3 separate regions of the Homo sapiens genome follow, and regions 1 and 3 are each linked to region 2. The links are contacts of gene promoters, found by promoter capture Hi-C in human tissues and cell types (Jung and others, 2019). All regions are on one chromosome and are shown on one strand. Each heading gives the region's core, a stretch centred on a gene start or on the middle of the fragment in contact. The rest is flanking DNA. Distances are from core to core; before and after follow the strand shown.

The links. The method cuts DNA at HindIII sites, captures the fragments that hold promoters and counts their contacts. A contact is called where the count stands out against the background at its distance.
Region 1: a fragment that was not itself captured here is called in contact with the fragment with the promoter of SV2C in region 2 in 1 of the 25 tissues and cell types used here (H1 embryonic stem cells).
Region 3: a fragment that was not itself captured here is called in contact with the fragment with the promoter of SV2C in region 2 in 2 of the 25 tissues and cell types used here (H1 embryonic stem cells and thymus).

The regions. Positions count from the first base shown.
Region 1 is chr5:75,842,173-75,846,449 of GRCh38, forward strand. No RefSeq gene overlaps it. Among named protein-coding and RNA genes, the nearest start is that of POC5, 130 kb to the left of the region's middle. The HindIII fragment of the contact is 5,307 bases long and covers 1-3,956 here.
Region 2 is chr5:76,081,146-76,085,066 of GRCh38, forward strand. SV2C (synaptic vesicle glycoprotein 2C) reads left to right here and starts at 2,238. Exons shown (of 13, transcript NM_014979.4): 1 at 2,238-2,367. It overlaps SV2C-AS1 (SV2C antisense RNA 1), which reads right to left and starts at 2,272. Exons shown (of 2, transcript NR_183290.1): 1 at 1,774-2,272; 2 at 261-1,251. RefSeq lists an enhancer at 1,049-1,602. The HindIII fragment of the contact is 16,764 bases long and covers 1-3,921 here.
Region 3 is chr5:76,216,041-76,220,370 of GRCh38, forward strand. All of the region lies in intron 4 of SV2C (synaptic vesicle glycoprotein 2C), which reads left to right. Among named protein-coding and RNA genes, the nearest start is that of SV2C-AS2, 93 kb to the right of the region's middle. The HindIII fragment of the contact is 7,655 bases long and covers 1-4,330 here.

The sequences.
Region 1 (4,277 bases), core at 53-2,552, 240 kb before region 2:
GGAATGGCTAAATTTAGATAATTGACATGTGCATTTCTCATATGCATTTTTGTGTGCAATGAGAACACTTGAAATCTGCTTAAAATTAGTAATCAAGTATACAATATATTGTTATTTATTATAGTCACAATGTTGTACAGTAGAGCTCTTGAACTCATTCTTCCTAACTGAAATTTTATATTCTTTGAACAACATCTCTCTAAACCCTTATCTCTCCACACTCCCAGCCCCTCGTAACTACTGCTCTACTCTGCTTCTATGAGCTCAACTTTTTAGATTCCTATAAGTGAAATCATGTGGTATTTGTCATTCTGTGCCTGATTTAGCATCATGCTCTCCAGATTCATCTGTATTCAGGCACCTGTTGTTCTTCATGCTCTGACTGAATGGGCTGGTGGAGTTCAGTGGTGTCCTATCTATTCCTTATAAAGATTGTCACAGTCCTTTTGCTTTCAGACCAGCTTAAACTGTTGGACTCAGTGATATCTAGTTTATTCAATTCTTGAGAATTCTCAAGGTTCTGTAACTTCTTAACTGTTTGGCGTATAATTAGCTTACTTCTTATTAGATATCCTATTATAGACTCAAGCTTCATCTCTCTTTGGTCTATGAGGCCACTTCTCATTTATTGCTTTTCAGTTTCTAGATTTTGTTGACATCTCTCATATGCTGTCATTATTTCTCTTTTTTGTGGATTTATAGTTTTAAATTCCTTTTCCTTTTATTTTAGTGGGATTTTAGAAGGTAACAAGGAAAAAACAATTATACTGAGTCCAGCAAGCTTACCCATAAATTTATTTTAATTAATAATTCTATTTTAATTGAGAAAAATGAAATAAAAGAAGTGATTAGTAAAGTTATAATTGGGTTAATTTATTTGGGTAATTCAACTTAAAAAATAATTTTTTTATTAATAGTAAAGTGATGAGGAAAAATGAACATATTGCTTTAGCTATTAGATATTTCACTTTACATTTTCTTTTCATGATTTTAAAGATTATAATGACAACAAAAATTATAATACAAGGGAAAAATGCAGACTACAAATTTGTAAATACTGCTTGATCACACATATGTAAATCTTGAGTTTCAGGATGAAAAGATAGATTTTATGTTCCCTTTGTATGCCAATAAAAATAGTTATTATAAATATTCTTTACTTTTCATTTGTAGTATTCAGGGTGCTTTGATGTTTACCAGTGGTCATTTTGAGCCCATAAAATGGTAAGAAGTAGCTCTGAATGGGAGCACGGAAAAAGGAGAACAAAGAAATAGGCTAGACACCACAGAAAACTCTGGACTCCGAGATAGGCAAGCAGCTTTTGAAGTGGTCCTTGACATTTTTCCTGGCGCTATAACTGGTCATGACTTTGGAAAGTCTTTCTATTAGCAGATGACGAGCATATTTATAGTTGTAAATGTCAGACAGGCCATGTTGGGAGTGGGCAGCTCTGGAACTGTGTATGTGGGAGGAAGGGTATTTTTTTCTCCTTGTAGTTTTTTGTGTTCTCCAAATTTTCTATAAAAATCATCTATTAACTGCCAGTGGAGAGTTTAAGAGATGTTCAATAGATGGGGTCAACAGGATGCAGATGTGTGTAGGACATAAAGAAGAGGAAGAAGGACCCTGGGTTCTGGGCAGGCAAGGGATGTAGTGCTCTGAACTGGCCAATGTAGTTCCTTCTAAGGGAGCTATCCCTGCTTCCAGTCCCTAACAGAAGAGAGGCCACAGGTGCACCTATGATCCCACCAGCCTTGGGCATAGTTGATTAGAATAGGTATGAGCTTTGGCCCAGAACTAAACTTTGACAAATTTCTTTGACACTCCTCTCTTTGAAAGGTGGATATATCTCCTCCAACTCCTTGAATCTGAGCTGAGTTTAGTGAGCAGCTGACTGCTAAGAGTATGGTGGAAGTGATGCCACGTGACTTACAAGGCTAGGTCAAAAAAGGCAATGCATCTTTTGCTTGGCTCACTGGAACAGTCACGTTGGAACCTTGGGCCACCATGTAAGAATTTCTGTCATCTGAGGCCATCATCCTGGGATGAAGCCCAAAGTAGTGTACATGGAGAGACCCTGCAGAGAGCCGAGAACCCTTGAAACCTCAGAGGAAAGAGAGGTGCCTAGCCAGCCCCCAGCTCTTTCAGCAGTTATAGTCTTCCAGCTCCAGCCTTTGACTACAGCTATGTGGCAGACTCTGAACCAGAACTACCTGGCTGAATGCTTCTCAAATCCTTGACTCCCAGAAACAGGAAAAAAAAAAAAAAAAAGATCATTGTTTTAAACCACTGAAGTGTGTAGTTTTGTGACGCAGCTATAGGTAATTGACTTATGGTACCAAAATATTTTCCAATTGTCTACTGCTATATAACAAACTATCCCAGAACTTAGGGTATAAAGCATGCATTTTATTATGCCCACACATGCTGTATATCAAGAATTCAGACAGGCACAATAAGCATGGCTTGTCGCTGCTCCATGATATCTGATGCATCAGCTGGAAAGACTCAAAGGCTGGGAGTGATCGACTGGGGACTGTTGTCCTCTGCAGATAGCTTTACTCACACATGTCCGGTGGTTGATGCTGGCTGTTTTCTGGGACCTCCGCTGGAACAGTCAGCCACAGCCCCTACCTGGCCTCTTTGTGTGGCCTGGGCTTCTTCATAGCCGGTGGTCGGATTCCAAGAGCAAGCTGCTGGTGTCTTAAGGCCTAATCCTGGAAATCTGCACACTGCCACTTCTATTGTATTCACAAAGTCCAGATTCCAGGGGAGGAGACATGAACCCTGTCTCTGGATGGGAGAAGTGTCAAAGATTTTTGTGTACCTTTTAAAAACTGTCACACATCCCGTAGGCTAGGCAGTGATCTATAACATGGTCTGGCTCAAAAAGATGAACTGGGTTAATTATTTTCTCTTTTCAAAAATTTGAACTAAGGAATACAAAGGAACACTTTAGTTAGAAGTGGTGGGTAGAGATGAAAAAATACCATGAAGTATAGACAAGGCCATGGTAAGTCCAGGTTATAAAGAGTCAGGAACTATGAGAAAGCAAAACATCTACGGAGTAGAAATACAATGAAGAGAAAAGGAGAAATGCAATAAAAGAAAATTCATATAGTCCTGGAGAGAGATCATGACAAGGCAGGGAGCCTCTAGAATGCCCAACTCTTTCTGACAGTTCCTATTCAGTTCCCATTCATTTGTTGTTTTTGACACTGATCTTACTTTTCTTACCCATTTTTCTAGGTCACAGTCAATAACAATGTCCTACATGGCAGTAGGACATACTGAAATGAGCGGGGCTAGGCAGCAGGTTTCTTCAGTCCTCAGAATTTTTACTGACATGGTGAGAGCCACATTAGAGAGAAAGAGAAATAACTATGTGAAGCAGTTGCTGCTGAGTAGTAAGAAAGAGCCACTGTGTGCTTATTACTGCCTCTGCACTTTATTACAGTCTGGGAAGAGGTATAGGAAGTGGGAGCAAGAAGAGAAACTACTTCACTATTTCCAAAGATGTATTGTTTTATAATGCACATTGAAATGGAAATGGATAACAGTAGATATATGGTTTTATCCAACTGTAGGGATTATTTTCATAAATAAGAGAATGAATAAAATTTCAAAATACATTTGGCCAATAGCTTTTCCCTGAAATTTGAGAACCCTTATCTGGTAGACATTAGCCACATGATTACTAAATTTAGTGGCATACTTTTGTGTGTGTGTGTGTGTGTGTGTGTGTGTGTGTGACAGAGTCGCACTCCGTCGCCCAGGTGGAGTGCAGTGGCGCGATCTTGGCTCACTGCAACCTCTGCCTCCCGGGTTCAAGCAATTATCCAGCGTTGACCTCTTGAGTAGCTGGGACTACAGGCATGTATAGTGGCATACTCTTTTAATAGAAATATTTGTTACCCAAGAAACTAGGGCCGAGCATGGTGGCTTATGCTCATAATCCTACCACTTTGGGAGGCGCAGGCAGAAGGGTTGCTTGAGCACAGGAGGTTGAGACTGTAGTGAGCTGTGATTGCAGCACTGCACTCCAGCCTGGGTGACAGAGTGAGACCTGACTCAAGAGAAAAAAAAAAAAGAAGGAAGAAAGGAAGAAAAACAGAAAGAAACTAGCTATTTTCCCGATGTCTTAAATGGGACATTTTGATTTTATCTACTGCTATATACTGATTTTCTCTTCTAAAGAAATAGTAGGCAGTCATTAAAGTACCACTATCAAAAAGGTGTTGATGCCAAAGATATCATTATTTTATTAGAAGAGAGA
Region 2 (3,921 bases), core at 988-3,487:
ATCAACCCACTTTAAAAAAATATCTTCCACGGACAAGATAGGAGAATAATTTAAGGAAGATACAGCATAGCATAAAGAACGTTGATCACGTTTAAAGTTTGTTTCATGGTTTTCTGAACTTCCATCACTTGGAGAAACAATCCATTATTCTGCAACAGTTTAGGGGAGGTTCTCAAAAAGGTAACCGTTTGAGAACTCAGTGAATTGCCAGCACATTTTGCAGTTGGAAGCTCAAATTTTTATAAATAACATGCGGGGAATCCAGATAGGATTTATTTTTTAATTTCACAATTGTATTTCCAATGCTGGATTCATAGGCACTTCCTTGTCATAGTAGCAGCACATTAATTTTAGCCTAAATAATTATTTAAATTATTTAACTATTTAAATTATTTAACTATTTAAATAATTATTTTACTAAGAAGAATCCACGAAATGAAAATGAGCACGTTCACTAATTTTCATATTGCCTGACCATCTCATAGCACCATGGTCACAGACTGCAAAGCCTCTCACCGGAACAAGACAGACCAGCAAGGAAGTGTAGGTTCAACAGCACATGAGAATCATAACTTTTAGTGCCAGAGTGTCTGAACCAGAGAGGAGGGAAAATGAGAGGCCAAGAGTTGTCTCCATTTTCTTCTCTTCACAGTATCCTGCATAGTGGCACAAATCGAACTGGAAAGCCCAAGCTAACAACACCGCCCTGGGCGAACCGCCTGTCTCCACCGGCTCCTCTGGGCAGGAGGCTCCAGCCTGGGGGTGCCTGACAGCTCTCCTTCCCCGGCGCCTGTATTATACATGTAACATTTATATTTCTATCCACACAGCGTTCATTCAGCCATCCATTCAATCACCCAGGCATATTTACACGGATGGAACACATTCGCGGAGAGATGTGTGTGTTTGAGTTCCAATCACTGCAGCCCGTATTGGCGCGGCGCTTTGTCTCGCTTTGGGTCACCACCACAGGAGCAACGATTTCGGGGACGGCACACGCCTGTGTGACCGCTTCCCACTCCACTTGGGTTCCGTGAGCGCGCGGAGCCGGAGGAGTCAGGGACGTGAGGATGCCCTACTTCCCGCAGCATCCGGATGGCAGGGTCTGCGTCGGAAGGCCCGGGAGGGCGACGCCCTCCACTGCTGCCGCGGGGTGGGTGCGCCAGGCCTGGGTGTGGCCTCACGGGAGCGAGTTTCTCTCCAGCCGCCTGGCCCACCGCTTTGGAACAGTGAAGCTCGAGTTGGGGTCTCCTGCACGCCAAGGGGAGAAATGTTTGTTTCTGACAACACAAGCAAAATTCTCTCTCCTGCACGCCAAGGGGAGAAATGTTTGTTTCTAACAACACAAGCAAAATTCTCTCTCTCTCTCCCTCTCTCTCTCTCTTCTCTCCTCTCTCTTTCTCCCTCCTCCTCCTTTCTTTCTTTCTCTTTTTCTTTCTTTCTTTCTTTCTTCCTCCTCCTCCTCTCTCTCTCTCTATCTCTCTCTCCACCCCCCCCCCCTCATATTTGGTTGTTTCCCCTCTAAGGGGCCACTTTCAATATCTGCCTGTGAGCCCAGCTGTCTGGCCCTATGTAGCATTGGGGAGACAGTAGACTTAACCCAGCGAAGTTTTCTTCTGTTTGCTCTTGCTGTGCCCAAGTTTCCTCTGGACTTGTCTTCCAGCGTCGGGGTGGGGGCTGGGGGAAGTAGGCAACCTAGCTCTGCCTGGTTGCTCCCTGGAAGCCAAGTCGAAGTGAACAAGTCAGTCCCAGGCCCGGAAATAGAATACAAACCCTCTTTTTGTCCGGTGCTAACAGAGTCCAGCAGTCAGAACTCCCTCGCGTCTCACGCTGGACCTGACCCGGGGCGCCGCCAAGTGCGCAACGCACAGTCACAGTTGGTGACTAATTAAGGACTGCCGCCCCTCTCCTTCACCTGCTACAAACTCAGAGCCCTGACTTCTCCAGAAGTACCTACCACTTGGAGGTGGCTCTCCTTCCCCGCCCCCTGCCCCAGTCCCACACCGCAGCAGCGCCTCAGCACCGCGACTTGCCGGAGCACCGCGAGTGGCGCGCGGGTCCCGCCTCCCCCGCGCGCCGTGACTCCCTGCGCACCGCTGGTACTCTCGCCACGCCGCCGCCCGGCACTGCAGCACCAGGGGGAGGAGGCAGGCGGAGGAGAGGAGGAGGACCGCAGCGTGCAAGCCGGGAGCCACTTTCCCGCCCCTCCTCTCGCCGCTGACACGCTCAGAGGAGTCACCACTCCGCGCGCTGCAGGCGAGAGTGGCAGACGGAGGCAGCCCGGGGAAGCGAGCCGGAGCGGCGCCCGCACTGAGGCGGCTGCAGTGCTGACACCACTCAGGGCAAGGGTGTCCGACGGCTGGAGCGGTGAGTGGGGGAGGTGAAGCGGGCATCCGCGGGGAGACTTTCCCCCGCTGCTGGATTTCTCTTCCCGACTGGTGGCCGGGCGCTGCAGCCTGGGGAAGTTTTTGCAGCCTTTCGGAAGCGCAACTTTGCCCCGCCTGCCCCCGGGGAAGCGGCTGCAGGTGCCCGCTGCTTTGTAGGCGCCTTTGTTGGAGAGGGACCAGGAAAGTAGGGGTAAAATAGATGCAGTGACCCCAGGGTTCGCTAGGGTAGGTCTGGGGACTGGGTCGCACTTTATCTGGGATTCCCAGAGGAGGTGGGTGGGCAGCAGCGGGGATGCAGGGGCCGCATCTGCAGCGACCGCCACGCTCTTTTTTGCTTGTGTGGTTTGACCGGCAGGGATAGGCAGATTCAAATCTAGCAGCCTAGAGCCCCGGGCTGGGTACCTGGACCTATACCTTCATAGCTGCCTTAGGCTCAACTTTTCGGCGGGGATCCCTCTGCAGACGTGCAGGTGGCGGGAGAGCAGAGGTAGCCGCAGTAAGTGCTGAGAGAGCCTGAAAGAAACACCATGAATTTTCAAACTCTCCCACATACATTCCCGAAGCGCCTGTCTGGCGTCTAAGAGAGAGCAAGAGAGGGCTGGAGAGCAGGGGAGCCCGCGGGGCTGAGGCTCTTTGTCAGCGCCTGCACTTCCTACGTTACAACGCCTTCATTCAGCAAAAACCTTTTGGGCGCCTGCTGTGCGCCAGGCCAGGCGAAGCAGACCCGAGGCTGTGAAGCTCAGAGGGGAGAGGGACCAATCGCAGTAAATAAGCTACCGAGGTAATCTTAGATGGCGATGAGGGCAGCAAAAGCCATCAGCCGACCCTCTGACCCTTTCTCTTAGTGGGCTTTTCCCCTTCCGCCTGGGTTCTAGAACTGGGAAGACTTTTCTCCAGAGCGTCGCGGGGAGCGCCCCGGGCTGGGCCCACGGGGACTGCGGAATACGGGGATGAACTTGGCTTGGGGCAGCCAGCACCCCACGGCAGATGAACAATCGGGAGCAGATCTGTGGGCGTGCGGGGACCTTAGGCGGCGCGCGGGGGCGGGGGGAGGGGCTGAGCCACGGGGGCTAGAGGTGCCGCCTGGACGGCCTGAGCTGGGGGCGCTCGCGTCACCTTCTACGTGTGCGAGTGATGCAAATGCAGACCCGCGAGGGGCGGGCGGGGGTGGCGGGCGGGGGCAGGCGACGGAGTCTCCGTCTGGGAGCGCGCGTGTGTGCGTCAAAAGCTCTGGGTTGATGGATGCCCCGCGGCGCGCCTGGCGCGGAGAGCGGCGACCCGGCGGGGCAGAGGGGGGCGGGAGGACTGCGGCGGCGCGGGGCGGCGAGGAAAGCCCCGCACGGCCTGGGCTGGCGGGCAGGCGGCTCCGCAGTGCGCCGCAGTGCCGGGAAGGAGCCGCAGCTACCGGGCGCTCCCCGGGGGACCGAGGAGATGAGGCGTCTTTTAAGGCTCATGAGAGCCTTAAGGAGATGAGACCGGGATGCCGTGATGGTCTCCTCTCCCGCTGAACCTAATCCCTTCATACTTAGCTGAC
Region 3 (4,330 bases), core at 222-2,721, 130 kb after region 2:
TCTTGTGAAGTTAGACACTGGAATAAGGGATTGGATTGCTCTAAGGGCTAGTGAGTTAAGACATGGGCTGTGGCCAGGAGTTTTTGGTGGACAGTGGAGTCCACTCAGCCTGCTGAGACCTAGCTTTTGTACCAGTGTGGAATAATGATGGTGCTTTCTCTTCATATCACTGCTATCAGAGTTGAAATTTTCCCCGGAGACAGATGGTTGCTAACATCTGAAGGTTCCCAACATGAATGGACCTCACCCAATGCTGACAAGACCTTAGGAGGCAGAGTGCTTGGCTGTGGTCACACCAGCACCTTCCCTGCCACCACTCCATTCAGGAACTTCTGGGCCATCTGTGTCTCCCCCATGGCAAAGAGCAGTCCACTAGAACAAGGGAGGAGGAAGAGCAACAAACTGAGAAGGAAATGCCCTTGCCTCAAAAATCAGTGCCTGTAAGAGCTGAAAATAGGTATTTAGAGTTGGCTTGGCCGGGTGCAGTGCCTCACACCTGTAAACCCAGTGCTTTGGGAGGCTGAGGCAGGAGAATTGCCTAAAGCCAGGAGTTCGAGAAAATTTGGCTCTTCTTGACCTAACACCCGTTCTCAAGCCTAGGCCTTCTGACCCATAGTGGGAATTGGCTACTGGTTCAGAAATAAATAAGCAGTATCTTCAAGAACAGATAGGTCAGGTGTAAAGGTTCTCTTTCAGCCTTCCTGCCCTTCCTTTCTCTCTCCACACTCTGTAATAATCAGGACACATCAGCATTTAATGGAAGCCCCAGTACCTCAGGGGAAATGGGAACAGAGAGCTGAATCACAGGCACTTTCTATGTTGGCTGAGAGCTTTCATTAGGCCCAGGCTTTGGAATTGCTGCTAGACTGCGGCACTGTCCGCTCCATTAAACCCTCTGTCATCATTTTCCCTTTTAAATTCATGTGCGCATCAGATGAGGTGTTCTCCCCTGCTGTGTGCATTACAGTGTGTAGCAAAGGTGTTCAATTAGCTAAATGGGAAAGTTCTTGTTTTAGCCCGAAAGGCCACAGCTCTGAAAGCCCACAGCACACTGGGCCTCATCTAGCCCCCAGAATAGCCCCATGGCCTCTATCTGGCTAGCCCTGCACTGCAGATGTTATAGGGTCAAACTTGGGGCTCCCATAAACGTCAGACTTACCCCACCCTACGTCTCCAGCCATGATGCGATGTCCAGGCTTAAAAATACATATATTCCCAAGGTTGTCCAAATTACCAAAACATCCCTACTTCCTTTGGCTGGCAGGAGAGGCAATAGCTATCTAATTGAAGAAGGAAGCAGGGAAGGATTCCTGATTCCTCAACCAGACAGATATTCAACAAGAAGGAAGAAGAAAGTCAGCTTCCTTGTTCACAAGAAGGAATGCACTGTGGCCAAGGGAAAGAGGTATAAAGTGAGAGGTATTTTGAGTCTCAGACCTGCTACTTCTGTGAGCTCTGTCAAAGCTTTTCAGTCTGATCCAGCCCACTCTCCTAGTCAGCATTGTAGTAAGGATTAAGCAAAATAATCTCGTTAGAATACCCAGTGTGTATTTGATGCTCAAAAATGGTAGCTCTTGTTGCTATCAGGTCATCCTACATGGGATACCCAGATTGCCAGAGCAGCCCAAATGTGAGCTACATGAAAAAAGAGGGAGAAGGAACTAAAAAGCATAAACCCTGCCTAAAGTTTGAGATTAGAGAAGTCAGAGAAAAGAAAAAAAAAAGGATAGAAGCTAAGATAAAAGAGAACCAAGGTATTAAAACAATACTGTAAAATCTTGATGACTTTTTACCCAATAAATCAGAATCCTCCATTTTTCTGTTGGGTAATTTAATATTCAAGGGGCATGTACTATATAAAGACCCATTTTCAAGGCCATGGTGCTATCGTTCCCAGATAGAAATAACGAGAGTCTGACAACTCTAACCTGTGAGCATCAACTACCAGCTGATTCTGCGGGTTATATGGGCAGCACCAGAGCCAAGCTCTATCGCAGCACCAAGATGTCAGAGATCCTGGAGACAGGCAGTCAGTGCAATTGTTAACAGCATGGGCTTAGAGGGAAGGCCCTACTTCCAAGCCACCTCTGCCCTCTCTAGCTTTGTCATCTTTAGGACAGTAACCTAGGCTCTCTGGTCCTCTGTTTCCTCATCTATAAAACAGGGATAATAATAGTATGACCTAATACAATTGCTGTACGATCACATTACTGGGTATATACCCAAAGGATTATAAATCATTCTACCATAAAGACACATGCACATGTATGTTTATTGCAGCACTATTTATAATAGCAAAGACTTGGAACACACCCAAATGCCCATCAATGGTAGACTAGATAAAGAAAATGTGGCATATATACAACATGGAATACTATGCAGCCATAAAAAATAATGAGCTCATGTCCTTTGCAGGGGCATGGATGAAGCTAGAAACCATCATTCTCAGCATACTAACACAGGAACAGAAAACCAAATACCACATGTTCTCACTCATAAGTGGGAGTTGAACAATGAGAACACATGGACACAGGGAGGGGAACATCATACACCAAGGCCTGTTGGTTGAGGGAGGCAAGGGGAGGGAGAGCATTAGGACCTAATGCATGTGGGGCTTTAAACCTAGATGATGGGTTGATAGGTGCAGCAAATCACCATGGCATATGTATAACTATATAACAAACCTGTACATTCCACACACATATCCCAGAACTCAAAGTAAAATAAAATAAAATAATACAATTGCTGTATTAAAGGATGGCATACAAAAAGTGCCTGACACAGTGCCTGGCACAAATGTTCATTAAGTGTAGTCTCGTATTTTCATATTTGGGACTGAAGTTTGGGTCAGGGAGGAAGAATTAAAAAGAGGAATATTTAAAAGATTGTATTTACCTTTTCCTAACCATGTTTTCTCAATGGTTCACCTGTCATTTGAAGTTGTGGAGATGGATAAGAAAGATTAGAAGTACAGGAACAGAACTTGTAAGGCATGCCAAAGTGTCCTGTGCCCACTACTCTAGGGTGTCAGGGCAGGCCTCACATGATAACTGGGGTTCCTCTCAGCAGCCCAGCCAGGACAGGCAGGTGACAGGTGGCCCAGAGCCCTGTCCTCTCATCCTTGCCATATTTCACTGAGTGTTACAGCCCTGATGATTTTATGCTCAAGAGGCAGAGTAAGACGTGACAGAGGGAAGTGATTTGGTACATTGACTTATACCAGTATTATTTCTTAATTTGTTAATTTAATTTGTTAATTTTACGATCAATCTTATATTTTATCTCAACGAAAGAACCCTTGGCTTCCGATTTCCTTCAGTGATGGTTCACTTTTCCCCATGCAATAATAAGATGCATCAGTCAAATAAACATTGATGATATAGTCTTTAAGGGCTTAAAAAGTAGATGTGAAATTTTAAAAAAATTATCATGTGTTTAAGTGCATGGCCATTTCTTTGAATGCATCTGTTTCATTGTTCATGGCACCCAGAAGCAAGTGTTTGGAAAGTCTCACGTGCTGAAACATGGCCACAAGCCAGGTCTCCCAGCCCAGCCTCTTGTCTCTCTCCCCATCCTCTTTGTTTAGTAGGGGTAATATGGAGCCTGTAGGGAAGGCATCTATCAGCTAGGATGCAGATCGTCCCCACAGACCCAAAAGACGTCTATTTACTTTCTTGAGAGATTGAGAGTTCTGGCCAGATCTGGGAAACACTTTTCAACATTCTCACGCTGACCTTTGAGGTATGTATAGTGAACTCAGAGGAGCTGCCTCCCCTACTGTGAATTAAGCCAATTATTGTGGAATTGAAGTCTGAACTCTTCCATTCAAGCTCACCAGAAAAGGAAGTGATGTCAGGCATTTACTGAGAGCTTTCTGTGTCCCAGGCATTGTACCAGGTAGGTTATCTTAGGCACCTGATCTTAAAATGGGGAAATGGGCTTTAAAATATGGCGATTTCCTGCTCTGGTGCTCATGTGAAGAACTGCATGTTCCTATGCTGATAGCACTGCAGGTGACCCTGTCAACCCGGGGTTTGTGACCATATGTCCCTCTGGTAAGTGGGTGAAGCCCACAGACCTCTTCCCAAAATAATGTTTTTATATACATAAAGCGAAATAAATAGGATTATAAATGAAATCAATTGTTTCAAAATAGTATTATCAAAATATATTAGCATACTAAGTAACAACATCTAGTGACAGGGCTAGTAGCTACCACAATTTTGAAGTAGATACAAGTGTAGAAGCTGGAAATCAACTGGTGCATTCTTCTCAATCCTAGGAAACCACTGGACCCCAGATTCTCTCCAGAATCCATTTCTTCACTTTA